4 separate regions of the Homo sapiens genome follow, and regions 1, 3 and 4 are each linked to region 2. The links are contacts of gene promoters, found by promoter capture Hi-C in human tissues and cell types (Jung and others, 2019). All regions are on one chromosome and are shown on one strand. Each heading gives the region's core, a stretch centred on a gene start or on the middle of the fragment in contact. The rest is flanking DNA. Distances are from core to core; before and after follow the strand shown.

Evidence for each region. The method cuts DNA at HindIII sites, captures the fragments that hold promoters and counts their contacts. A contact is called where the count stands out against the background at its distance.
Region 1: the fragment with the promoter of SNX33 here is called in contact with the fragment with the promoter of PPCDC in region 2 in 2 of the 25 tissues and cell types used here (lymphoblastoid cells and small bowel).
Region 3: the fragment with the promoter of PTPN9 here is called in contact with the fragment with the promoter of PPCDC in region 2 in 3 of the 25 tissues and cell types used here (lymphoblastoid cells, mesenchymal stem cells and spleen).
Region 4: the fragment with the promoter of SNUPN here is called in contact with the fragment with the promoter of PPCDC in region 2 in 1 of the 25 tissues and cell types used here (small bowel).

The regions. Positions count from the first base shown.
Region 1 is chr15:75,642,905-75,650,333 of GRCh38, forward strand. SNX33 (sorting nexin 33) reads left to right here and starts at 5,008. Exons shown (of 2, transcript NM_153271.2): 1 at 5,008-7,429. The coding sequence starts at 6,199. RefSeq lists a silencer at 4,627-5,166 and an enhancer at 4,792-5,483. The HindIII fragment of the contact is 33,754 bases long and covers 451-7,429 here.
Region 2 is chr15:75,021,685-75,028,339 of GRCh38, forward strand. PPCDC (phosphopantothenoylcysteine decarboxylase) reads left to right here and starts at 1,906. Exons shown (of 6, transcript NM_021823.5): 1 at 1,906-1,942; 2 at 6,563-6,655. The coding sequence starts at 6,635. The HindIII fragment of the contact is 16,541 bases long and covers 1-6,655 here.
Region 3 is chr15:75,573,935-75,580,762 of GRCh38, forward strand. PTPN9 (protein tyrosine phosphatase non-receptor type 9) reads right to left here and starts at 5,381. Exons shown (of 13, transcript NM_002833.4): 1 at 4,780-5,381. The coding sequence starts at 4,842. RefSeq lists silencers at 4,589-4,988, 5,249-5,738 and an enhancer at 4,948-5,546. The HindIII fragment of the contact is 16,601 bases long and covers 2,829-6,828 here.
Region 4 is chr15:75,621,228-75,628,330 of GRCh38, forward strand. It overlaps SNUPN (snurportin 1), which reads right to left and starts at 4,498. Exons shown (of 9, transcript NM_005701.4): 1 at 4,439-4,498. RefSeq lists a silencer at 3,977-4,026 and an enhancer at 4,677-4,866. The HindIII fragment of the contact is 13,243 bases long and covers 1,171-7,103 here.

The DNA.
Region 1 (7,429 bases), core at 3,758-6,257, 620 kb after region 2:
GGGATTATAGACGTGAGCCACTGCACCTGGCTACTAATTTTTAAATTTTTTGTAGAGATGGGGTCTCACTATGTTGTCATGGCTGGTGTTGAACTCCTGGGCTCAAGCGATCCTGCTACCTCAGGCTCCCAAAGTGCTGGGATTACAAGCATAAGCCACCATGCCCGGCTCAGAAATTCAATTTTGGACATTTTTGGTTGGAGGCATCCATTAGACTTCTGAGGGGAGATGTCAAGGAGAAATAGATATATGAGTTAAGAGTTTTTTTAAAAAGGGCTGGAGATTTAAAAAATTGGGCATTACTAGAATGAGTGGTATTTGAAGTCATTCGGCTGGATGAGATCATCAAAGGAGTGCCTATGGATACAAAAGACAAGAGGACAACTCTACTGTGGTTACTCTAACGTTAAGAATTATTGGAGGCTTGCTGGGCGCTGTGGCTCATGCCTGTAATCCCAGCACTTTGGGAGGCTGAGGCAGGTGGATCATGAGGTCAGGAGATCGAGACCAGCCTGGTTAACACGGTGAAATCCCATCTCTACTAAAAATACAAAAAGTTAGCCAGGCGTGGTGGCGGGCGCCTGTAATCCCAGCTACTTGGGAGGCTGAGGCAGGAGAATTGCTTGAACCTGGGAGGCGGAGGTTGCAGTGAGCCGAGATCGCACCACTGTACTCCAGCCTGGGTGACAGAGCAAGACTGTCTCAAAAAAGAAAAAAAAAAAAGAATTATTGGAGAGAAGAGGATGAACCAGTGAGGTGGAAGAAATACCAGGAGAGTATGTTCTCTCCAATGCAAATGAAGAAAATGTATCCAGGAGGAAGGAGTGATCAACCAGGTCAAATGCTACCAAAAGGCTAAATAAGAGAAGGACTGAGAATAACCATTAGGGTCCAGCAACACCAAGGCTATTGATGACCTTGACAAGAATAGTTCAGTGGAGTGTGGGAGTAAAAGATTGGCCAGAGGGATTTAAAGAGAGAACAGGAGAAAAAAAATTGGACGCACTTAGTATAGACAGCTATTTCAAGGAATTTTGCTGCAAAGGTGAGCAGAGGAATGGGGCAATAGCTGGTGGGGAAAGTGGAGTCAAAAAAAATTTTGAGATGGAGTCTTGCTCTGTCGCTAGGCTGGAGCGCAGTGGCGGGTGCAATCTCGGCTCACTGCAACCTTTGCCTCCCAGGTTCAAGCGATTCTCCTGCCTCAGCCTCCTGAGTAGCTGGGACTACAGGCACACGCCACCATGCCTAGCTAATTTTTGTATTTTTAGTAGAGACGGGGTTTCACCATGTTGCCCAGGATGGTCTCGACCTCTTGACCTCGTGATCCGCCCACCTCAGCCTCCCAAAGTGCTGGGATTACAGGCAGTAGCCACCATGCCCGGCCTCAAAAAAAATCTTTTTTAACATGTGGGTTGATACTTCACTCAATAGCTGCAGCTTATTGGTTGCTTTCCCAGTCTATTCTACCTCCAAAAGCTCTCCCAGATTTTTGTCTCTCCAGCCTGTTACCCCTGCCCTATGTCAGGCCCTCATCATCTTTTGTCTGCATTCCTACAGTAATAGTCCAGTGTGTCCTGCAGGCTGCCACCAGCAGAGTCAGCCTGAAAACCACTGGGCACAGTTCTCCCTTGCTGTTTCCTTTCCTAAAGGATGGAAATTGGATGCCTGGATGAGGGATGGATGCTGTTTCCTGTGTATGAATCAGGGTCCCAGCAGGAAAGACAGAACACACCCCAGTGAGAATAACGTGAGAGGCTGGGGGTGGTGGCTCATGCTTGTAATCCCAGCACTTTGAGAGACCGAGGCAGAAGGATTGCTTGAGCCCAGGAGTTTGAGATCAGCCTGGGCAACATAGTGAAAAGCCCCCTATACAAAAATACAAAAGTTGGCTGGATGTGGTGGCGGGTGCCTGTAGTTCCAGCTACTTGGGAGGCTGAGGTGGGGAGGATCACCTGAGCCCAGGGAGGTTGAAGCTGCAGTGAGCTGTGATTGTGCCACTGTATTCCAGCCTGGGCAACAGAGTGAGACCCTGTCTCAAAAAAAAAAAAAAAAAAAACAGAAAAGAAAAAAAGAATAATGTGAGACTTGACTAAAGGGACTGTTTCCATAGGAATGGGCAGGGTATAGGGAGATCACAAGGGTTAGTGCAGTTTCCTGAGACTGCTAACATGGCCTGTTTCCCCTAGGACTGAAGAAGGTCCCTGGAGGGGAGGGAATGGGAAGATACAGGTTCTGGAAATCTCAGTGAGGCTGAGGAGTGAGTTCCTCCCAAGAACCTGGAAATAAGGGTGGCTCCTGAGAGTTACAAAAAAACCCGTCTAGAACACATGTGGGAGTAAATCCAAAATGGCTGGTCTGTAAATGTGTGACTGAGTGTTTGGGAACCAACTAAAGTCTGTCAAGGGTGGTGGCTGAGGACGCCTCGGGGAGGTTGGGCTGGAGGGGGACCCTATTGGGTGAACAGAAATCCCAATTGTATTAAGTAAACTAATAAAGGTAAAGCGTTTACTGTAGTGTCCATCACTCAGCAAGCACTAAGGAAGTAGATGCTTTTTTTTGCTTTTTTTTTTTTTTTGTGAGACAGCGTCTCGATCTGTCCCCCAGGCTGGAGTATAATGACATATACAATGGCACCATCTTGGCTCACTGCAGCCTCTCACTCCTGGCCACCTCACCTGGCTGATGCTATCTTTTTTTTTTTTTTTTTGAGATTGGAGTCTTGCTCTATCACCAGGCTAGAGTGCAGTGGCACAATCTCGGCTCACTGCAACCTCTGCCTCCTGGGTTCAAGCAATTCTTCTACCTCAGCCTCCTGAGTAGCTGGGATTACAGGCATGCGCCATCACGCCCAGCTAATTTTTTGTATTTTTAGTAGAGATGGGGTTTCGCCATGTTGGCCAAGCTGGTCTCGAACTCCTGAGCTCAAGTAATCCACCTGCCTTGGCCTCCCAAAGTGCTGGGATTACAGGTGTGAGCCACTGCACCCAGCCCTGATGCTATTGTTAAACTCAGTTTGGAGAAAGGCTATGTGGACAGAAGATAGATCACAGGGAAGGGGGGGGTCCTAAAAGCACGTGGGGAAAACGTATATTCTGTCTTAGAGATGCTAGGACGAACTGTCTTTAGAATGAAGGCTGCCCCATGACAGGAAGCAAGGTTTTAAGGTTACTTGACTGAGAGACTCCTCATACCCTTTCCCCTCTTGGGGGTTCCAGACTCACTGAGCTAACTTTCTGGTAACTGGGCTTCCCAAGGGGTAGCCCAAACTGCCTTGATCTATTGATGCAGAAATTCAGTTCTGCTTGACAGTTTTATTTCTCTGTGCAAATTGATACCTAGCCTTCTGGGGTTTGTACATAGGCCTTTATTCTGGTCAAATGCCAGACCTGCGAAGGGAGTCGGATCCACTCACTGAACCAGTGAAACTGGGTTTTGGAGCCAGAGGTCTGGGAACCATGTCCCTCAAAACAGCCAAAGGTATCCATCTTTAGCAGAACTACCTTGTACCAGTTAATCTGCAATAAGTGACTAGGGAGAGAATGAAGGGAAGATCTAGCTAGACAGGGTAGACAAGACTCCAGGGTATAGCCAGGAAAGGGAGTCCTCCTGAAGCCTTTGCCTCATCTTAGGCACTTCCTCCTTCAGGAAGCTTTCCTTGATCCTTGCTCTACCCAGGCTGGGGTAGGTACCCTCATGTGCACTTTTCATGGCACTAACTAGTCACACTGGGCAGGGAGCATTTGTCTACTTGTCACAACATATCTGAGCTTTTGGAAAATAAGGATAATGTCTTATTTGTCTTTGTAGCTCAGGGGCCTGGTGCAGAGTAGGTACTCAGTTAATGTTTCTTGAGTGCATGACTTGGCTGAATGAATGACTGAGACAGAATGGATTGATTAAAGACAAGAGAGGGTGGACTGTAAGCCCCCCAGGATAGAAACCCCGACTGCCTTGTGGTGTACTACTCCCCAGTGCCCAGCACAGTGCCTAGCAGAATCAATGCCCAAAGTGTTCCCGATATGCTGACCGAGGGTCAGATCCCACTTGCCTCTTCTCGAAGATTCTCTACCTGACCACTTCTCTCCTTGCTGCCGCTGGCTAGCACAGAACATCCAGTCCCCGCTGCTGTACTAAGCAACACGGAACCGGGTGGCACCTAGACTTGTTCCCTGTCGCTGCAGATGTAGAGTAGTGTCTTTCCCTCCTTCCAAGCTAGTCGCCCAGGGCAGGGTCGCCCTGTCTGGCTAGGGTGCTGCACCCGCAGCTCTCGGTATCTTAGGTCAGACGCCTGGAACGCGCAGGCCGTTTCTGTTCCTCCGGAAAACAATCTCTGAGCTGCGCCACGACCCGTCCCTGCGGAGCAGGAGTGGGGAATGGGAAGGTGGGAAGGCGAGTCCGCGACTCTGCTCCCCAACCCCAGCTGGCGCGGCGGCTTTCCACGCACCCCCCTCCCCCCACCCCGATCTCCCGATCCTGGCTCTGGCGCGGTGCTCCTTGCAGCCCCACGCTTTGCAAACTTTCGGAGTTTTACTCCATTTGCGTCACGGAAAAGGCAGGAGGATGACGGAGTCCAGGAAGCGAGGCAGCGGCAGCTGGCAAGCTCCCCCGCCGGGCGCTCCAACCACGGGGGCGTGAGGTGTCTCCCGGCGAGGGCGGACAGGCGGAGGGAGAGGAGGGGAGGTGGCGGTCCCAGGGACCAGCCCCGGAGGCTCTCGGGCCCCCTCGTTCCCGGGTCGTTTCCTCCCTCTCGCCTCCCGGACTGAGCGCCAGCGAGCGAGGGCGCTGGCCAGCTGGGAAGCCGCGCGGAGGAGTAGGCGGGGGCTCGGCTGCAGCGCCCCGGGCCCGCGGGAGGGCGGAGCTGGCCGTCCCTGCCCCGCCGGGACGCACGGAAGTGCAGCGGAGTTTGCCCGATTCTCCAGCCTGCTTCCCCCTCCCTCCTCCCTCTCCCCACCCCTCACCTCCCCTTTGGCGATCCCCTCCTTCCTCAGGACGCCACCTCCCGGAATCGCCTTTTTGTTTTGGAGCTGCCTTCTCGCTGGCGGAGCGGAGGGTCTGCGAGCGCCGGGGAAGGCAGGCTGGGGGCGCAGCCCGCCCCCCACTGGCCGGGCCCCGCAGGGCGGAGAGGAGGACGGACGGACAGACGGCTGGCCGCGCCATCTGCTCGCCGGAGCTCACTCTCCAAACTCCAAACTGTTGAGTGTGTGCGTGCACGCGAGGGTGGTGATCGGGGGTCGTAAGTCCCGGGTGAGGAACCGGTTTCTGCTGGGGTTACCTTTGGACGGGGTTCCTGGGATTCAGAGCAGGGTCAGCGTCAGGCTCAGAAACTGCTGAGGAATTAGGCAAACAAAAGAGACCACTCAGCGAGTGGCTAGAAGTCGCCCGACAGCCTCGTCGCGCCCCCTCCTTCCTCCGGGGTTGGGGCTGGCCACTTCTGGGGCGGGGAGAGGGCGCCCGAGCCGGCGGGGGCTCCGGCTGCGCAGCCGGGGTCGAAGAGTTGGCGGCCTGTTGTGTAAGCCTCAGTCCTTGTTTTCCCGGCCTGGCTCGTTGTGAAGCCGGACACATCCACCCTTGGACTCGATTCAGGCGGCTGCTGCTTTTCTCCTTGCCCCTCTTGGATTTTCCGGATTTTTGAAAACCCAGTGGCCCAGGAGCAAGAGGAGGAAGGAGGAAGGGGCAGATCTGCAGAGGAATGTGAGAGCCTCCCAAAGCGAGAGCCGCCAAAAGAATCTGGGAGCCAGAGGGACAGCCGAGCCCTGCCCGGGTTTCTGGAATGGTGGTTTCAGAGTGAGTCTCTTCTATTTTAGAACGTTGTTCCAGTGGAAAGTGTCGAATTTTTCCCCTCGCAGGGCAGATTTCTCCAGGTCACTTGACTTTTCTTCTGGGAGTAGGAGTTAGGAGAGATTCCCCTCTAACCCCCCAGAGGCTGCTAAGGGAGGAGGAGACTGTGGACATGAGCCCTCCCTGCTCACAAGCATATGCCCGGAGACCTGATAGGGCAGTTTCTGGGCCATGGACATTGCTTTGAAGAGGGGGAGACTGGACAGCATCTGTGGGTGCTGAGACCCCACCTTAGGACCTGAGAGATTGAACTGTGTAAGCGCCATTCAGCTGCGAGTGCATTCTTGGACTGCCTTGTGAGCATCCCCGGTCTGGGCAGGACCCTCTCCTTCCCATCTTTCTATACCACCCAGCCCAGCCATGGCACTGAAAGGCCGAGCCCTCTATGACTTTCACAGTGAGAACAAGGAGGAAATCAGCATCCAGCAGGATGAGGACCTGGTCATCTTTAGCGAGACCTCACTGGATGGCTGGCTGCAGGGCCAGAACAGCCGTGGGGAGACAGGGCTCTTTCCTGCCTCTTATGTGGAGATCGTCCGTTCTGGCATCAGCACCAACCATGCTGACTACTCCAGCAGCCCTGCAGGCTCTCCCGGAGCCCAGGTGAGCTTGTACAACAGCCCCAGTGTGGCCAGCCCAGCTAGGAGTGGTGGGGGCAGTGGCTTCCTCTCAAACCAGGGTAGCTTTGAGGAGGATGATGATGATGACTGGGATGACTGGGACGACGGATGCACAGTGGTGGAGGAGCCACGGGCTGGTGGGCTGGGCACCAACGGGCACCCTCCCCTCAACCTCTCCTACCCTGGTGCCTACCCCAGCCAGCACATGGCCTTCCGGCCCAAGCCACCACTGGAGCGGCAGGACAGCCTGGCATCTGCCAAGCGAGGCAGTGTGGTGGGCCGTAACCTCAACCGTTTCTCATGCTTTGTGCGTTCTGGAGTGGAGGCCTTCATCCTGGGTGATGTGCCCATGATGGCCAAGATCGCTGAGACATACTCCATTGAAATGGGCCCTCGTGGCCCCCAGTGGAAGGCCAATCCCCACCCATTTGCCTGCTCTGTGGAGGACCCCACAAAACAGACCAAATTCAAGGGCATCAAAAGCTACATCTCCTACAAGCTCACACCCACCCATGCTGCCTCACCCGTCTACCGGCGCTACAAACACTTTGACTGGCTCTATAACCGCCTGCTACACAAGTTCACTGTCATCTCGGTGCCCCACCTGCCTGAGAAGCAGGCCACTGGCCGCTTCGAGGAGGACTTCATCGAAAAGCGGAAGCGGAGACTCATCCTCTGGATGGACCACATGACCAGCCACCCTGTGCTCTCCCAGTACGAAGGCTTCCAGCATTTCCTCAGCTGCCTGGATGACAAGCAGTGGAAGATGGGCAAACGCCGGGCGGAGAAGGATGAGATGGTGGGTGCCAGCTTCCTGCTCACCTTCCAGATCCCCACCGAGCACCAGGACTTGCAGGACGTGGAAGATCGCGTGGACACTTTCAAGGCCTTCAGTAAGAAGATGGACGACAGCGTCCTGCAGCTCAGCACTGTGGCATCAGAGCTGGTGCGTAAACATGTGGGGGGCTTCC
Region 2 (6,655 bases), core at 656-3,155:
GCCCCCTGCCTTGGGAGGAGGAAGTAGAAGAAGCAGGCTGGATCGGCCGGGCGTGGTGGCTCACACCTGTAATCCTAGCACTTTGGGAGGCTGAGGCGGGTGGATCACGAGGTCAGGAGATCGAGACCATCCTGGCTAACACGGTGAAACCCCATCTCTACTAAAAATACAAAAAATTAGGCGGGCGAGGTGGCAGGCACCTGTAGTCCCAGCTACTCGGGAGGCTGAGGCGGGAGAATGGCGTGAACACAGGAGGCGGAGCTTGCAGTGAGCCGAGATCGCACCACTGCACTCCAGCCTGGGCGACACAGCAAGACTCCATCTCAAAAAAAAAAGACACGGCTGGATCCCTGCGTAAGGGATGGTTTGGCCCAGATGGTCCACTGCGGCTAAGGGCGGGGGTAGAGCAGAGGCCCCACCTCAGCTCAGGGCAGGGGACCCGCAGCTGGTTCAGCCACCTCAATGAATACAGAGGTTCCTGGGGCCTGTGAAGGCTAGAAAATGAAGGGGGCAGGGAAGCATGCCAGTGTGTGTTCTTCTGCCGCCTTCCCTTTGCCCATTTGATGCCTTCCACCTGGATCGCTATTGGGATCCTCTATCTAACCTCCTGGCTGTCCTTCAAGATTCATTTCAAGTCACTCCTTCAAGAAGGCTTTCCTGCCTAGAGGTGTTGCTTCCTCATGGAGGATCTTACCCTGTCATTTTCTGTGTCCCTGTTTGTCTCAAGAACAGGGACGCATCTGATTTATCTCTGTATCCTGTGCACCTAAAATAGAAGAGGCTTGGTAAATATTAAGTGCCACGAGCCCTCTTTTACTAAGGACCTGCCAACATGGGCCCCATTCACACTAATACCATGAAGATAGCCCTTTTCTATACTTCGTCATAAAAAAGTAATACACACACCCGGGCAGCAACTTCCACACAAACAACACATGTGCAAGGAGATCACCATTATTTCCAGCAAAATGCTCCCCAGGGCCGAGCGTGGTGGCTCACTCCTGTAGTCCCAGCACTTTGGGAGGCCAAGGTGGGCGGATTGTTTGAGCCTAGGAGTTTGAGACCAGCCTGGGCAATAGAGTGAGAACCCGTCTCTACAAAAAATACAAACATTAGTCTGGCATGATGGTGCACTCCTGTAGTCCTGGCTACTCCATAGGCTGAGATAGGAGGATGGCTTAAGCCCAAAAGGTGGAGGTTGCAGTGAGTGGAGATAGCACCACTGCGCACTCCAGTCTGGGTGACAGAGCCAGACCCTGTCTCAAAAAAAAAAAAAAAAACAAAAAAAAAAACAGCTCCCCAACAAGATAGCAGGCTACAACATGCATGTGATGAAGCTGATTTGAAGCGCTCAGTGAGAGGTATCTGCATCAAGTTGCAGGAGGAGAAGAGAGAAAGGAGAGATAATCATGTTCCTGAGGTCTCAGCCCTGGATCAGGAAATCATTGAAGTATTAACATATCCTGACATTAAGGAAATGCTGATGTTTTTGGACTTTGGCAGTCTGTCCAACCTGCAGGTCACTCAGCCAACAGTGGGGATGAATTTCAAAACGCCACGTGGAAGCTGTTTGAATCTTTTTGAGATACTGTAATATTTTCAATAAACCTGGGACAACAGCAAAAAAAAAAAAAAAAAAAAAAAGGCCCCAAGCAACAAGCAGTGTGTGTGGGGCTGATAGGAGTGAGGAAAGGAGGTCGGACAGTTATGCCAGCCCCTATCGAGAGTCCCAGCAATACAAAGAACAGGGCCAGGGTTTGCTCCAGGATTTCCCCAGTGGACTACAACTCCCGGAAGGCAGAGAAGTGGACTACAGCTCCCAGAAGGCTGCGCGACATACAGCCAGCCCGGTGCTCTCGTGAGGCGTGCCAGTCAGATTCCGCGGGAGAGCGGCAGAGATACCGCGATATTTGGGAGCGGCCCCGAGACGCGCCTGGCGCGGGTGAGCAGTGGAAGGGGGCTGGGAAGCTGGGTTCTCGCGGCGGCGCGGGAGGGGAGGTTCGGGGAGCTGTGTCCGCGAGCGTGGGTCCACGGCTGTCTGTGTGTGTCCTTATTTTCCCCTGTGTGCCCATGAAGCTCTGTTTGCGACTGTGCGTGGGTAGGCGGCCGTCCATCTGTGCGACCTCACTTTCCCGGCTGTACGGGTGGGGCCGCCTGGAGCAGGAGGGACCCCCGAGCCCTGAGTGGAGGGTTTGCATCTGTACCCGTCCAGCCCGACTTTGTGCTGCTCTGCGATTATTTGTCCAGTGTCGTTTAATCTAGTTTAAATGATGGCCGTGTCAGCTCCTCACACTGAACGCTTACCCGGGCTGCCCAAAGTACAAAGTGTATTTAAAAAGTTGGTAAAATTAAAAAAGGAAAGCCATGGGATGTTGGAAGTAGCCCTAGGCCTGCCAAAAAGTGCTGAGTGCTATTTAAAAATTAGGCCAAATCTTGTCAGAAAAGAACTTCCTGCTGTCCTTGAAGTATTTGGAAGCAGGTGCTAGATGGTGAGCAGGAGAGGTTGCCAAGTTGGGGAAGTGGTGGTTGTCCTGGAGCAGGGGTTTCCACATCTCTCACAGTGGCTGGGAAGTAGCAATTCGCAGTCACTGCCTTTCTAGTAGCCCACGTGTGTGAGTGTGTGTGTTAGATACATTTATCCCTCAGTATCCGCAGGGGATTGCTGTATACTTTTTTTTTTTGAGACAAGGTCTCATTCTGTGACCCAGGCTGGAGTGCAGTGGCAGGAACATGGCTCACTGCAGCCTCGACCTCCTGGGCTCAAGGGATCCTCCTGCCTCAGCCTCCTGTGTAGCTGGAACCACAGGCATAAACAACCATACCCGGCTAATTTTTATTTTATTTCATTTTTGTAGAGACAGGGTCTCACCATGTTGCCCAGGCTGGTCTCAAACTCCTGGCTCAAGCTATCCTCCTTCCTTGGCCTCTCAAAATGCTGGGATTACAGGTGTGAGCCACCACATCACCCTCCTGTATACTCTTTTTTCTTTTCTTTTTTTTTTTTTGAGTCAGGGTCTCACTCTTGTCTCCCAGGCTGGAGTGTAGTGGTGCAATCATAGCTCACTGCATCTTCGAACTCCCTGGGCTCAGATAATCCTCCCACCTCAGCCTCCCAGGTAGCTGGGACTGCAGGCACGTGCCACCACGCCCTCCATATAATTTAAATAATCTCTAGATTACTTATAAAACCTGATACAGTGTAAATGCTATGTAAATAGCTACACACTTTTTTTTTTTTGTGGTACTATTATTATATTTTGAAATGGTCTCTCTCTGTCACCCAGGCTGGAGTGCAGTGGCACAAACATGGCTCACTGCAGCCTTCTAGGCTCAAGCGATCCTCCTGCCTCAGCCTCCCAAGTAGTTGAGACCACAGGCATGTGCCACCACACCTCACTAACTTTTAAATTTTTTGTATGGGGTCTTGCTATGTTACCCAGGCTGGTCTCGAGTACCTGGGTTTGCTCAATCCTCCCACCTTGCCCTCTTAAATTGCTGGGATTACAGGTGTAAGCTGGAGCAGAAGCCTGGGCAGCCGGTAGTGAGGGGCTTTGATGTTAGGCTAAAGGATTCAGGCTCATAATGGATCTTGGATCCCTGCCTACCCACCACCCACTTCCCTTGTTTGGTTCTGCTTTGTCTTAGGCTCAGTTCTCATCCTTCCTGTATTGAGCTTGAACGTATACCCTGTCTGGCCTTGCTTTCCTTGCTCTGTCTTTAGTCTGGTTCTGTGCCAGCTCCACCTTTGCCCATATAGGGACTGGCAGGTATCCCTGAAACCTAAAACTCTGCCCTGAATTAAACTCATCAGAGGAGACTTAAACATCACAAGCTGAGGCTCTTTGCTCTGTCTGTCCCTGTCTTTCTGGAGGATAGAGAAGCTGCCATTTTTCTGGCTGTGGCTTACCTGCTTGGCTAGTGCCCTGGGATCTTGAGGCTCAGTAATCAAAGCGTGTAGCCCTATAACCTGCCCACTTGCCAACTCTTTTTGCTGCTCAGGAGTTCCTGTGAATTCAGCAGAGCCCGGGGAAGTCAGGTACTACAGCTACCTGTGCAAATAGGTGACTCCAACAGGTTCTGGTTACAGTAATAGACTTACTGGTTTGGAATTTGATCCTCTTTGCAAGCAAATGAAGGAATCCTGCCAGCCATCACCCTTCCTGGAATTCTCAGGTTGAACTGATTGGACCTCGCCTCCAAATGTTGGTTAAATGATCCACTTTCTATTCTTCAAGTATATTAAGCACACACATACACACACACACCCTCTTTTTTAGGAAGGTAGGTAGGTTTGATCCTTAGCACAGCTTTGCTAAGCAGGCTAAGTACTGTATTTCGGACTATAGTGCCTGCTGTGGGGAAGCAGTTGAAGTCACTAATACAGATTCCTGCCCCAAGTTTAACTGACTGCTTTCTGTAACCTGTTTCCTAGGAATGAGATCAGCTTGATGTGGAGGAGGTTCAGGGGCCTCAGAGATAAAATTTGGCTTCTGGTTTTGCAGGAATCTACCTATCCTAGCACCAGTTGGCTAGGGTGGGACAGGGTCAGGGTTTGCGATCTGGCAGGTAGGTTTCCCTGGAGAATAAAGAATGTGCCTCCATCACCTACCAATGATGTGTTCTGGGAAGAAGCTGGCTGGTAGCCCTTCTGTACCTTGTCAGATTCTAACAGGGCTCCCCACTCCCTGGGGTAAACTCAGTTCTCCAACTCTGGCCAAGCATTGCCCTGGTTGGGGCCCTGCAGTGGAGCAGACATTGAGATTACTGGCAAATCAAACTTTGGGTGATCTTGCCCTAGGGAACCAGCCTGTGCTTAACCCCTGCTGAGAAGTGGGATAATGCAGCCAAACATGATCCTCAGCCCACGTGGGTTGTGCTCAAGTGCTGAAGGCAAATCCTGGGCAGAGAGGCTAGAGAGCCAAGGGGCCTGTGAGTGAAGAGGAGATAGGCCCCTGTGGATGCTCAGCCATGGAGGTAGCCATTGGACAACTCACCAGCGCTGCTTCCTGGGCAGCTGCCTGGGTTTCCCTTGCCATGCTGATTCTTTTTTGAGTGCATCTTCTAGGACCTTCTGTCTTGGAAGGAGAGCCCCTTACTGCTCTCTTTCATGTATTGACTCAAAGTTTCTGCTGGAAGGAGCTTCAGAGATCATCTGGTCCTACCTCTGCATTTTTCAGATGAAGGGACAGGTCCAGGGAGGGAATGACCCTGGACCAGGGTCACTCCAGGTCAGGAGCACACCATGGTCAGGGCCCAGGGCTTCTGCTTCACAGGCTAGGTATCTGTCTTCTGCTCACACTGCCTTGGAGGGTATAGTTATTCATTCAGCACCTGTTCAGGACTGCCGGCTAGTGGACTGCTGGTTGGCAATTAGACCCGGTCACACATTCAGGGAGCTTGCTGGTGGAGGGAGAGGCAAGGAAACTGATGTGTTAATTGAGTCTGTGATCACCAAAAAGGTGCATCCCAGGGAAGGACTGATCTCAAATAATTTCAGACAGGTGTCATTCCTGTCTTCTCAAACTCAACCTACAGATTCCCCAGAGGCAGCTACTGTGTTTTCCACAATTCCTTTGCATGGTGTTCTTTGTAATCGGTCCTCAGTGATGGTTGCTGATGAAGCACGTTCTGCTGGCCCAACCCGCCACGTGTAGGTTTTGGTGTCCATCAGCCATATTATCATGAGTGCACACTTCTAGCAACGTCTGAGAGCCAGAGGAAGAAGCAAACCAGCTAATCTCCTGGGGTGGCCTGCATCCCCTTTATGCTGGTTTCTTCCTGGGCTTTGATTTGTACGGTGGTGCCCATCTTGATTAACAGGGACAGGGACAGAGAGGCAAATCTCTTGGCTCCCTGGAGCACCCAAACCTCCCTGTTGCCCAGGGTTCCACCTCATGAGCATCTTTGGAACCCATCCCTTCCTGCCGCTTCCTTTCACCAGTCAGCCCAGTCCACCGCAGCAGCTCCTCTCGCCCTCCAGTCTCTCCACTAACAGGGTCCCTTTGACACTGTCACCAGGTGCCAGCACCGTCTTTCTAAAACCAAAACTCCTCACCCTGGCCCTCGCTGCCCACGGCATTCTGGCCTCACCCTGACTTTCAGTCTCACTTTCTGCCCCTCTACCACCCCCCATCACAGTCCGGCCTCACTAGTAAGCCACTCCCTGTTCCCCAACCTGCCACCCTCCTCAGGACCTTCACCTTGGCAAGATTGTTCCTTCCTTTGAAGTGATTTCTTCCTGTCTCTGAAAAACTAACTCATCCTTCAGGACTCAACCCCAATGTCATTTTTTCTGGGATGCAATCTCTGACTTCTAGAGATGGTCACCCTGAGCAGCCACGCACCTGGTACAGCCCTTCCCCACAGCACTGCATCATTCCCTTGTGACTGGCCCATGTGTGGGGAAGGTGTCTCACTTTCTTATCAAACTGTGTGCTCCCTGAAGCCAGGACTGCTGATCCCTTCCGCTGCCTCAGCCTCTGGCCTGGGGCCTAATACGTGGTGCTCCATACATTCTGGTCGACTGTATGAATGAAGGGGGTGGCCCTTGTTCTCCTTTTAGATCCTAAATCCCGACAGCTTTATAGAGCCCAGGCCTGGCAGGCTCCCAGAACTTGAAGCCACCAGACCCCACATGGAACCAAAGGCCTCCTGT
Region 3 (6,828 bases), core at 4,131-6,630, 560 kb after region 2:
ATGAAGAGGAGGTTAACAAAGGGGGGTGTTTCCAGATGGAGGAAAGCAGCTCCTGCAAAGACCCTGTAAGCAGGAGGAAACAAGGAAAGAAGGCAGGACTATAAGGCCAGTGTGCATGGAGCAGAGACAAGTGTGAGAACTAGCTAGGGCCTAGGCTGCTCAAGGGCCTAGATATATAGCCTACATTCAAAAGTTGCAATTTGATCTCAAGAGCAATGACAAGGCCTGTAATCCTAAGGCTTTGGGAGGCTGAGGCAGGAGGACGGCTTGAACCCAGGAGGTTGAGGCTGTAATGAGCCGTGATTACACCACTGGACTCCAGCCTGGGTGACAAAGTGAGATCCTGTCTCCACAAAAAAAAAAAAAAAAGGCAACCAGAAGCCACTAAAGAGTTTTATGAATGCTTCTTTGCGGGGCAGGCAGGCTGAGGGGAAGATGAAATCAGATTTTCAACAGGACTCTGGCTTCTGGATTCTGGAATATGGATGGACCAGGTGGGAAACAAAAGTCCTGTCAGGATAGGATAGTAGCTTCGAATAGGGTGATGGCAGTGATGGTGGAAGGAAGCCAATGAATTCAAGAGATATTCAGGAAAATCTAACACTGTATTGTACACAAGGGCAGAGGGACAGCAGTGTCCAAGACTTCTGGGTTTCTGATTCATATGACTGTACAGAAGGAGATACCACTCAGGAGGTATTCTGCTTCAGAAATATTTTTAAGGAGCCAGGCGCGGTGGCTCACGCCTGTAATCCCAGCACTTTGGGAGGCTGAGGTGGGTGAATTGCCTGAGGTCAGGAGTTCGAGACCAGCCTAGCTAATGTAGTGAAACCCCATCTCTACTAAAAATACAAAAACTTAGCTGGGTGTGGTGGCGGGCGCCTGTAATCCCAGCTACTAGGGTGGCTGAAGCAAGAGAATTGCTCGAACCCGGGAGGCAGAGGTTGCAATGAGCCAAGATCACGCCATTGCATTCCAGCCTGGGCAACAAGAGCAAAACTCTGTCTCAAAAAAAAAAAAAAAAAAAGAAAGAAAGAAAAGAAATATCTTTTTTTTTTTTTTTTTTTGAGACAGAGGAGACGGAGTCTCGCTCTGTCGGCGGGATCTCGGCTCACTGCAAGCTCCGCCTCCCGGGTTCACGCCATTCTCCTGCCTCAGCCTCCCGAGTAGCTGGGACTACAGGCGCCCGCCACGACGCCCGGCTAATTTTTTGTATTTTTAGTAGAGGCGGGGTTTCACTGTGTTAGCCAGGATGGTCTCGATCTCCTGACCTCATGATCCGCCCGCCTCTGCCTCCCAAAGTGCTGGGATTACAGGCGTGAGCCACCGCGCCCGGCCGAAAAGAAATATCTTTAAGGCTGTTCACACAGGCCAAAAAGGGCCTAACTGCACTACACTTTTGCATGAAAATGTGTAAACCGAATTTGATCCCCTACTTTAAATAAGGCTCTAAAAGATTTTTTGCTATTTACAGAAATCAAACTGACTCTCAAAAGTACAAGGATTTTCCTACACTGAAGAAATTTCAAAGATTCTGCCACAAGCTTCTAAATCAACTCCAAATAAATGTTAAATTGGTTTGAGCAATAGGGCAGCATTACGGAGTGAATGTGTCAGTTCCCATGAGGACCACTTTGATAAGGCTAACACTTATGTACTGCTGTTTAATTTTAATATTTTAAATAAATCTTAAGAGTACCCTTGGCTGGGCGCGGTGGTTCACGCCTGTAATCCCAGCACTTTGGGAGGCCAAGGCGGGTGGATCATGAGGTCAGGAGATCGAGACCATCCTGGCTAACATGGGGAAACCCCGTCTCTACTAAAAATATGAAAAATTAGCCAGGCGTGGTGGCGGGCGCCTGTAGTCCCAGCTACTCGGGAGGCTGAGACAGAAGAATGGCATGAACCCAGGAGGTGGAGCTTGCAGTGAGCCGAGATTGCGCCACTGCACTCCAGCCTGGGCAACAGAGCAAGACTCCATCTCAAAAAAAAAAAAAAAAAAAAAAAGAGTACTCTTGGCTGGGCACAGCGGCCCAGGCCTGTAATCCCAGCATTTTGGGAGGCCAAGGCGGGTGGATCACGAGGTCAAGAAATCGAGACCATCCTCCAACATGGTGAAACCCCGTCTCTAGTAAAAATACAAAACTTAGCTGGGCATGGTGGCACGCACGCCTGAAGTCACAGCTACTTGGGAGGCTGAGGCAGGAGAATCGCTTGAATCAGGGAGGCAGAGTTTGCAGTGAGCCGAGATCACAACGCTACACTTCAGCCTGGCAACAGAGCAAGACTCAGTTAAAAAACAAAAGGGTACTTCTGGCTGTGTGCAGTGGCTCACACCTGTGATCCCAACACTTTGGGAGGCCAAGGCGGGTGGATCACCTGAGGCCAGGAGTATGATGAGACTAGCCTGGCCAACACGGTGAAACCCCATCTCTACTAAAAATACAAAAATTAGCTGGGCATGGTGGGTACCTGTAATCCCAGATACTCAGGAGGCTGAGGCAGGAGAATCGCTTGAACCCGGCAGATGGAGGTTGCAGTGAGCCGAGATCACGCCATTGTACTCCAGTCTGGGCAACAAAACCCAAACTCCGGCCAGGCGCAGTAACTCACGACTGTAATCCCAGCACTTTTGGAGGACGAGGCGGGCAGATCATGAGGTCAGGAGTTCAAGACCAGCCTGGCCAACATGGTGAAACCCCGCGTCTACTAAAAATACAAAAATTAGCTGGGCATGGTGGCAGGCGCCTGTAATCCCAGCTGCTCGGGAGGCTGAGGCAGGAGAATCGTTTGAACCCTGGAGGCAGAGGTTGCAGTGAGCCAAGATCAGGCCACTGCACTCCAGCCTAGATGACAGGGCGAGGCTCTGTCTCAAAAAAACAAACAAACAAACAAAAAATCAAAACTCCATCTCAAAAAAAAAGAGAGTACTCTTATGTGATATTAAACTAAAATATGGTAACATTAGGCATTACCATAATTAGAACTATACTGCTTTTGTTTCAATATTTTGAAATGCTTGTAAAAAAATAATATTTTGTAGAAAAAAGAGATAAGATTTTAAAAACACACACACACACAATCTCTTGACTTTAATAAACATTTTGCCGTTTCCATCCTAGTCCTTGTTAATGCCCATCACATTCAATTCAGGGTAAAAGATAAGGTTTTTACTAGTTAAACACATCTGTATATATGTGTATGCACTATGTACAAAGTAAAGCCAATACCATGTCAATACTATCAATACTTTAATATTTACTTTTCCTGGTTTTAGTTTTCAAATTTGCAACGGATGCTATTTGCATAGAATACTGATGGCTTTAAGTCTTAAAAACAGAAATCTGACTGACCCAAGGAAAAGGATGAAAGAAAGAGATTTTGTCCCTTTAAAATCAGCCAACACATCCTATCTTAGTACTGAAGTACTTCCCAATTCTGGCAGAATGGGCTCCTTGGCCACCTGCTTGCACTAGGGTCTGACTAGCATTTTATTAACATCCAACTGCAGTTACCAGGACATTCATTACCACTGCTTGTACAAAGCAGAATTCTTTTTAAATTTTTTTCCCATACAGATTTCATCACCAGGTGTCAAAAGACAAAACCGTGGCCTGAGGCCAAATAGAAAAATGTCATCTCCACAAATAAGGAGAAAAGACAAGGACTTTAAAAAATCAGGTCAACAAGCCCATTAGCCAATAATAGTTTGTAAAACTGGACTGTCTTCACACTAGAGGCTGTGCTAGCAAATGTGGTCCTTGGAAACAAGAGCTGTAGAGCTTGAAATGGGTTGCCAGCATGGTTTGCCTTTTTCTTTTTTCATGTTTATTTTTATTTTTTTTATTTATAACATGGAATCAGACTATGACTATAATCGAGCATAGCTATGGCGGGGTATGGGCAGTGCCAAGGAAGAGACAGCGAAAAGCCCGTAGGGTTCCCAGTCTAAGCTAGCAGACCTTCCCATCTTCCTCAGGAGTGGTCCCTGTCTCCGCAGCTGGAATGTGCGGGAGGGAAAGTTACAAGGGCCCCCAAAATGAGACAGCAAACCACTTCCTTCTGAAAACTAAAGGTCATAGGCTTTTAAGGAACAATAGAGCTCAATGTAAGCTTCAGAAAGATGGAGACAGTCAGATGAGACGAGGGTAGGGAAGCGCGGGTGAGGAGATGCGCCCCGTCTGGGATAGCTGAATAGGGGGGTCAAGGCCAGGGACTTTAGGAACACGAGAAGGGCTGGATCTTCCATAACCTGCCCAAGTGGGCCTGAGAAACCTAAGAGGCTCCTCTGAAAATCTAGGGCATCTATGCATCCAATACTCTCAGCCCTCTCCTCGGGAAGGGAGATAATCCCCACAGGAAGCACCCCCCAAACTGGGGCTTTTCCTGCCCTTCAAAAGCCACAAACCCTCACGGAAAACATTTACAAGGGAGTGGAAGGGCCGGGGGCAAGCAGCGGTTCTGCAAATCTCGGGAAGAAGGCCCCTGGATCCAAGGAACTTTGCCCCTGGAATAGGGGGTGGGGTGCGGAGGGCACCGTCTGAGGCTGGTAAGCCTCGGCGAAAGAAGCGGCGGGAACGGGAGTAGGGTCCCGTGGGTCCCCCGACGAGGGGGTGGCGGCCTGGGGCGCGGTCGCCGGTGAGGGAGGCCCGCGAGCCGGGCACGGGAGCGGGGGGCTGCGGCCCCGTGGCTGCAAAGAGCCGGCACTCGGGAGGCAGAGGCCGGCGTAGGCCTCGGGGGCCCGGACACACCCAACGCGGCGGCCTCGGGCCCGCTTACCTGCTCCTCCTCCGGGGTCAGCTCCGGCGCCATGTCGGGCCGGGGCGCGGTCGCGGGCTCCATCCCCCCGCCACCGCCGCCGGGCGGACAAAACTCGCTCGCGAGCGCGGGAGCCCGGCGCGCTCGGCCTCCGCTTCCGCGTCCCCGCGCCTCAGCAGCCCGGGGCCGGCTCGCGCATAGTGTGGCCGGCAGGGCCCGGCGCCTGCAGCGGCCGCAAACGCCGCTTCTGCTTCCTTAAGAAAAATCTCTCCGAACTGCCGCTCTCTTCCGGGAGGAAATCCTTTTTTATATTATTCGCTCCGTTCCTCACACTCCCCCTTATCTCCTGGGGAAGAAAAAGTGCAGGCGAAGAGCTAACAGCCACTCGGGATTTAAAAGGAAATAGGAAATCAGGAACTTTTAGAGCCGGGAGCGAAGGGTCGGCGGAAATTTCCCGAAGGCCGCCGACCCCCTCGGCGCCCCGCTTCCTCGGCCGCGCTCCCGCTCCTCCACAGCGCCACAGAGCTCGGGGCCGCCCAGCCGGGCCGTCCTCGCGGACGCTGGCCCTGCGACCTGCGCGGCTGCCTCAGCCAGGCTCCTCGCGGGCGGCCGCAGCGAAAGGGAGGGAGTGGAGAGGGAGCGAGGGAAACGCGCCCCCCTCCTGACTCACGGCCAACGCTGCGGCCGCCCCGCGGCCGCCCGAGCCCCCCGCGGCTCCATTGAGAAACTGAGCGTCTCATTCACAAGCTGGCGGCGAGGAGGGCCCGGCGGAGCGAGGACGCAGTCCGGGAGGGGGAGACAGAGAGGAGCCCGGGCGGGGGAGGGGACCGGGAGGGGGAGGGGACCCGGGCGGGGAGGGGACCCTAGCTGGACGGAAGGCAACTCGACTGCGGGAGGGAGAAAAAGGAAGAAAAGAGTATTTCGTGAGGCTCAGATCCTCGGAGGAGGAGGAGAATACGTTCGTTTGCAAATTATCTGCTGACTGGCACCTCTCCTGGGGTTAACTTGCCGCTGCCACCTACGCGTGAGAAACCCACAATCCTCAACTATTTGTCGCTTGCAGCCTGAAAGACCCTGGAAAGGTTGCCTGCCAGGCCAGGATGCTTAGGTGGAAGGAATCGCACCTGCCTCCCTCTCTCTCCCTCCTTACTGGCTGCACCCTGTAATTCATCTCCAGTGTCGCTAATTTTAATCCCCCATAGAAACGACATCAGACTCCGAACATCATTCAGGAATGACGCGGCCTTTGCAGACCTTTGATTTTCACTAGGGCAAGTGCAGCAAAGGGTTCAGGATTAGGGGTACAGTCTTGGAGTCATTTGGGGAGGAATGGGGCATAGAGAAGGCAAGGCTGGGTCTGGTACGTTGTTGCATTATTCCAAGCCAAAGATAAATATTCCAAAGGGACCCAAAGTCCACAACTAGTTCCAAGGCTGAAGCCCTGGAGCCAGTCCTGAGGGACCCAAAGGAGGGGCCTTCAGACAACAGGAAGGTGCTGTGAGTTGTGATGCTCCTATGATTTTTTTTTTATTTTTTTTTTTGAGACGGAGTCTCTGTGTCGCCCAGGCTGGAGTGCAGTGGCGCGATCTCGGCTCACTGCAACCTCCACCTCCCGGGGTCAAGCGATTCTCCTGCCTCAGCCTCCTGGGTAGCTGGGATTACAGGTGCGAGCCACCACGCCCGGCTAATTTTTGTATTTTTAGTAGAGACGGGGTTTCACCATGTTGGTCAGGCTGGTCTCGAACTCCTGACCTTGTGATCCGCCCGCCTCGGTCTTCCAAAGTGCTGGGATTACAGGCAGGCGTGAGCCACCGCGCGCCTGGCTTTTTTGTTTTTCTTTTTTTGAGACGGAGTCTCACTCTGTCACCCAGGCTGGAGTGCAGTGGCGCGATCTCGGCTCACTGCAAGCTCCCCCTCCCAGGTTCACGCCATTCTCCTGCCTCAGGCTCCCAAGTAGCTGGGACTACAGGCACCCGCCACCGCGCCCGGCTAATTTTTATTTTTATTTTTTTTATTTTTTTGTATTTTTAGTAGAGACGGGCTTTCACCATGTTAGCCAGGATGGTCTCA
Region 4 (7,103 bases), core at 3,248-5,747, 600 kb after region 2:
ATTAGCAATAACATTATTTTCCTACAGATATTTCCTTTTTTTTTTTTTTTTGAGACAGGGTCTCTCTCTATCACCCAGGTCGGAGTGTAGTGGTGCAATCACAGCTCACTGTTGCCTCAATCTACTGGACCCAAGCAATCCTCCCACCTCAGCTTCCCCAGTAACTGAGACTACAGGTATACACCACCACACCCAGCCAATTTTAAAATTTATTGGTACAGACGGGATCTCCCTATGTTGCCTAGGCTAGTCTTGAACTCTTGGGCTCAAGCAATCTTCCCTCCTCAGCCTCTCAAAGTGCTGGCATTATAGGTGTGAGCCACTGCGCCCGGCCTTTTCTGAGCAGTTCCTCTACAGTTTCCTGAATAGCCATCACTCATTAACCAATATAACTCTCCATGCAGTTTATTCAATTGGTTATTTAATTCTCAACTAAGTGCCAACTCATATTATGAAAATTTAATTCCAGAGGAAACACTGGTTCTAGGGTCCCTGGAGGAAGACAAAAGCAATCAAAAACCCCAAACTCGCCAGGCACGATGGCTCATGCCTGTAATCCCAGCACTTTGGGAGGCCGAGGTGGGTGGATCACAAGGTCAGGAGTTCGAAACCAGCCTGACCAACATGGTGAAACCCCGTCTCTACTAAAAATACAAAAACTAGCTGGATGTGGTGGCAGGCGCCTGTAATCCCAGCTACTCGGGAGGCTGAGGCAGAAGAATCGCTTGAACCTGGGAGGCGGAGGTTGCAGTGAGCCGAGATCGTGCCACTGCACTCCAGCCTGGGCGACACAGCAAGACTTCATCTCAAAAAACAAACAAACAAACAAACAAAAAAACAAACTCTAGCGACCTGGGATTACAGGTGGCTCATGCCTGTAATCCCAGCACTTTGGGAGGCCAAGGCAGGAGGATCACTTGAGGCCAGTAGTTCAAGACCAACCTGGACAATGTAGTGAGACTATGTCTCTACTTTTTAAATAAAAAAGTAAAAAATTATTTTAAATTATAATTTATTTTTTAAAAAATCTGATTGTTACTTCCTCATATTCTAGTTGTGTTTTGTTTTTGGGTGGGCAGAAAGAAGGTTTCAGGGCTACTTATGTGGGACTCACTTGGAAAAGAGCTAGGATGTGGAAGGCTGCTTAACAAGTAACGTCAATGCTCCAGTAGTGTGAAGAACTTCCATAAAGTACATTAGGGAAACAAGACAGGCATGGAGTAGATGTCATTTTGAAAACAGACTTCCCACTTTAGGTGGACCCTAAAGAATGGGAGTGGGGAGAAAGGTGAATTCACACTTCATTCAAGCGCCTGTGAGCCTTAGATTATAAGAAAACAGGAACATTTGGGAGAAATCTGACTTGCACTGCTGGGCTGGCCCAGCCCTTTGGTTCTAGTGTAAACCAGAGGGCACCTCCAGTGCTTAACCTCCATCCCAGGCCAGGTCCAGTGCTCTGAGCATCAAAATCAACAGGTTCATTCCAGAGCCTCTACAGTGAAAAATACAACTCCATAGGCCTCTACTTGGCCAGTGAGTTACTTTCCATTGCACAAGTGAAGTCAGATATTTTTCTTGATTTGAAACATTAGATTTTGTTTAATTTAAAAGGAACTTAAAAATCGTGGTTTGCCAGGTGCAGTTGTGCTTGCCTTTAGTCCCAGCTACTCTGGAGGCTGAGGCAGGAGGTATGCTTGAGCCCAGGAGTTCGAAGCCAGCCTGGGCAATATAGCAAGACCTTGTCTGTAAAAAGAAAAAAAAATTGTGGCTAAATACACATATCATGAAATTCATCATCTTAACCATTTGTAGGTGTACAGTTCTGTAAAGTTAAGTATGTTCAACACTGCTGTGCAGAACTCTCCAGAACTCCTTTTATCTTGAATAACTGAACCTCTGTAACCTTTAAACATAAAAGAAACTTTTTTTTTTTTGAGACAGAGTTTCACTCTTGTTGCCCAGGCTGGAGCACAATGGCACGATCTTGGCTCACCACAACCTCCGCCTCCCAGGTTCAAGTGATTCTCCTGCCTCAGCCTCCCGCGTAGCTGGGATTACAGGCGCCCGCCACCACGCCCGGCTAATTTTGTTTTTGTATTTTTTAGTAGAGACGGGGTTTCACCGTGTTAGCCAGGATGGTCTCGATCTCCCGACCTCCTGATCTGCCCACCTTGGCCTCCCAAAGTGCTGGGATTACAGGTGTGAGCCACCACGCCCGGCCTTTTTTTTTTTTTTGAGACAGGGTCTCACTTTGTCTCCCAGGCTGGACTACAGTGGTGTGATCTCGGCTCACTGCAGCCTCCACCTCCTGGGTTCAAGTAACTCTCCTGCCTCAGCCTCCTGAGTAGCTGGGATTATAGACATGCACCACCATGCTCGGCTAATTTTTGTATTTTTAGTAGAGAAGAGGTTTCATTATGTTGGCGTGGCTGGTCTGAAACTCCTGACCTGAAGTGATCTGCCTGCCTCAGCCTCCCAAAGTGCTGGAATTACAAGCATGAGCCACTGCACCCGGCTTGAGGTGTGCCTTAATATCTTTGCAATGCAACCAAGGGTTGCCATTCCTGAGTGACTGAGGCCTCATGATGAGTGCTTGGGATCCATATGGTATGTTATTCAAATCATCCATAATGGTATGTATGCTATTGTCTCTACTTTTCTGTACTTTTGTGTAAGTTTGAAAGCTTTCATGATAAAATTTTTTTTTTTTTTTTTTTTGAGACGGAGTCTCGCTCTGTCGCCCAGGCTGGAGTGCAGTGGCGGGATCTCGGCTCACTGCAAGCTCCGCCTCCCGGGTTCACGCCATTCTCCTGCCTCAGCCTCCCAAGTAGCTGGGACTACAGGCGCCCGCCACTACGCCCGGCTAATTTTTTGTATTTTCAGTAGAGACGGGGTTTCACCGTTTTAGCCGGGATGGTCTCGATCTCCTGACCTCGTGATCCGCCCGCCTCGGCCTCCCAAAGTGCTGGGATTACAGGCGTGAGCCACCGCGCCCGGCCGATAAAAATTTTTAAAAAGTCATTATGTTTTCAGTTCATCACCAAAGTAATGACCAAATCCAAAGCACCTTTATTAGGCCTATCATGCACTATCTTGGTGTGGGCTCCCGCTCTGCCAAGAACCACACAACCTTTGAAACTGATGTCCTGGGCCTGGCGCGGTGGCTCACGCCTGTAATCCCAGCACTTTGGGAGGTTGAAGCGGGCAGATCACCTGAGGTTAGGAGATCGAGACCATCCTGGCTAACACAGTGAAACCCCGTCTCTACTAAAAAAAAAAAAAAAAATACAAAAAAATTAGCCAGGCATGGTGACGGGCGCCTGTAGTCCCAGATGCTCGGGAGGCTGAGGCAGGAGAATGGCTTGAACCCGTAAGGCGGAGCTTGCAGTGAGTCGAGATCGTGCCACTGCACTCCAGCCTGGACTTCGTCTCAAAAAGAAAAAAAAAAGAAAAACTGATGTCCTGGATACTGGGGCGGTTCCTTTACCTTCCTTCAAGGCTGTTCTTGGCGGGTTCCTGCTGTTTCGTTTTGTTTTTTCTTTGTTGTTGTTGTTTTTTTTTTGAGACAGAGTTTCGCTCTTGTTGCCCAGGCTGGAGTGCAGTGGCATGATCTCGGCTCACTGCAACCTCCATCTCCCGGATTCAAGCGATTCTCCTGCCTCAGCCTCCCGAGTAGCTGGGATTACAGGCACGCGCCACAACGCCCGGCTAATTTTTTTTGTATTTTTAGTACAGATGGGGTTTCACCATGTTGGTCAGGCTGGTCTCAAACTCCTGACCTCAGGTGATCCGCCCACCTCGGCCTCCCAAAGTGCTGGGATTACAGGCGTGAGCCACTGCGCCCCGCCGGGCTCCTGCTGTTTCAACCCATTCCTTGGATGGTGCTGCCTCCAAGTGTTCGGACCTTAGCCCCAGGTGGTCTTAGCACCAGTAACCCCCGCTCCAACTCCCTAAAGTCCGACCCGCCCCAGGCCCCGCCCACGCTCCACCCTCCCTCCCTGTCTAGCCCCCTCCCCCATCCCCTTCCCCCTCCTTCGCGTCTCCCCATCCGGCGCCCCCGCCTCGCGTCCCCTGGGTCCGCATCCTGGCAGCCTCCGCGTTTCCCTACCCCTGCTACCGGGCTCCAGCCCCGGGGACGCTATCTGCTTCACTCGGCCGTGCGCGCCGCCACCGCCCCGCACTGCCTTTTTCTAGGCATGGGGTCATCTAGGCCATGCATGATTCGCCCCTGCCCCACAGAAGTCCCTGAGGGGTCCTGGCCGGACAGCACGGAATAGAAGAACGGAAACTCTCCCAAAAGGAGTCCCAGGCCTGGCTCTATCCCTCCAGATGACGTCCCAGGAGGCCAGAGTGCAGGGCCGGCCAGAGGGAGTCACAGTCCGGCACCGAGAGGCAACTCGGCAGCTGGCGGGGCCCGGGCTCGAACCCAGGGACTCACCCAAACCGAGGTGACCGTCGCACGCGCCGCCGCCACCGGGGCCGACGAATCACCTGCCCTGGGAAGCTAGGTCCGCCCTCCCCCCGCCCCCAGCTGCTGCCTCACCGCTGGGCCCACAGGCCTCGCGCCCTGAGTTTCCGGCTCCTCCCTCCTTTGCGAACGCTGGGAGTTCCGTTGCCTACAGGCCGTTATTTCCGCCTTCAACGGCTGGGGCATTTCCCATCGGCTAGGGAGGGGGTCTTCTTGCATTTGCTTTGCACTGTCCGGGACTCTTCCTGCTAGATGACTTGACCAGGCCGAGGCCTCCCTCCTGAACACAAGCTCTTCGGGGCTCCTTTCGCCAATGGGAGGAGGCTGATCTTGTGGCCGGGCATTCAACGCCCTGGGCCCTGCCGCCTCCCGCAGATCTTCCCGGGCCTTAGGGCTTCACCTGGAGTCCCCTTCCCCTCTTGGGCCCGTGCTCTTAAACGGGCAGTGCCAATTGCCTGGATTACTCCAACTAACCCCTCACACCCAAGTTTCAGACACAGACCTTCGCTCCCCCACTTGCCCTTAACAAAAGCAGATACATACCTCGATTACTGCCTGTTTGCTGCTTTTGCGAGCTTCTTTCCCACTCGGCTGCGGGCTGAGCAATGGTAGGGACCTGGCTTGATTCCTATTTAAGTAGCCAGAGTCCAGCACAAGGGATGGCGCTCAGTAGACCCTGCGTGAAGGAATGATTAAATTGGTGCAAAAGACTAGGGTAAGCGGCAGAGATTTAGGAGATTAAGTCCTGCCAGGGTGTAGCCTCTGCAGGGCGGGAAGGCTGAGATTACAATTTTAAAACTGAATATTTATTGAATGCTTACATTCAGCCAATCCCTGCTTCACACCCATCATCTCATTTAATTTTTTTCCTTTTTTTTCTTTTTTAAGCCAGTAGATATTAACTCTTAATCATGACATGAGGAAGTAGACACACTGAAGCTCAGAGAGGTTAAGTAATTTGGCCAAAGTAACACAGCTTTCAAGGAAAATGTTTGAATTTGCTGAAAGTTTGATGTATAGGGAAGTTGACTACCGATGTATGACAGAAGCAAAGTATCCACCTTTGGCACATTTTGCGTCCACGGAATGCTAAAATTTGGACTTGTGTATTTTATGCACATTACACCATACATTCAGACTAAAAAGAATAGGAAATTAGGCTGATGAAAGGCTATTACTAGACTGGTAAAAAGGGTTCTGGGGCCCTGGAAGGCCAATTTTTCTGGACGTGAGATTTTTTTTTATTTTTTTGAGATGGAGTCTCGCTCTGTCGCCCAGGCTCTGGAGTGCAGTGGCGCAATCTCCGCTCACTGCAAGCTCCGCCTCCCGGGTTCACGCCATTCTCCTGCCTCAGCCTACTGAGTAGCTGGGACTACAGGCGCCTGCCACCATGCCCGGCTAATTTTTTTGTATTTTTAGTAGAGACGGGGTTTCACTGTGTTAGCCAGGATGGTCTCGATCTCCTGACCTCATGATCTGCCCGCCTCGGCCTCCCAAAGTGCTGGGATTAAAGGCGTGAGCCACCGCACCCGGCCTGGACCTGAGATTTTATTTAGGTGGCTCTTTCAGTGGCCAGGCTGAGCAAAGCTGTCCACTAGGGTATTTATTTGGTGCATCCACAAATAAAAGCTCATGTCTGCCTGATTTATGAGACTGACAAAAAAGAGAAGTCCAGGGCCTGACTTCACTAGGGAATTTTGACACCCAGGATATTAGGTATTTTGTGTCCAAACAACCATCCCTTACAACCACGGAGGTCACATCTAATGGTCGGGCTGCATAGAAAAGAATAAAGACCTTAAACATTTTAGGAAAATAGACTGAGACTGAGAAAGAAGTTCCCAAATTCATGCCTGGAGGTCCAGGAGAAATGTTCTAGTTCCTCACTCACACCTAGCTGAATAACTTCCCATATCACTGAAAAAACAAAACAAAACCAGGTCAGGCACTGTGGCTCATGCCTGTAATCCCACCACTTTGAGAGGCCAAGGTGGAAGTAGCCCATGAGTTTGAGACCAGCCTGGGCAACATGACAAAAACCCATCTCCACAAAAAAAAAATTAGCTAGGTGTAGTGGTATGAGTCATGATCCCAACTACTTGGAAGGCTGAGGTGGGAGGATCACTTGAGCCCAGGAAGTCATGGCTGCAGTGAGCTGTGATCCTGCCACTGCACTCAGCCTGGAGACTCTGTCTCAAAACAAACAAAAACCAGAGCACCTGGCCCAGGGGTTCATTTAGAGCCAGTGGGTGTTTCAGAAGGGGCTACCTCTGGAATCTCAGCTTCAGAATGTTGGCCACATGCACACACTGTGCTTTATGTCTTTAAATCAATTAATTTAAGAAAAAAGCCTGACTACATTTATTTAAAAGGGCAACATTGGCCAGGTGTGGTGGCTCATGCCTGTAATCCTAGCACTTTGGGAGGCCAAGGCGGGCAGATCACAAGGTCAAGAGATCCAGACCATCCTGGCCAACATGGTGAAACCCCATCTCTACTAAAAATACAAAAATTATCTGGGCATGGTGGCGCATGCCTGTAGTCCCAGCTGCTCGGGAGGCTGAGGCAGGAGAATCACTTGAACCTGGGAGGCGGAGGTTGCAGTGAGCCGAGATCGCGCTACTGCACTCCAGCC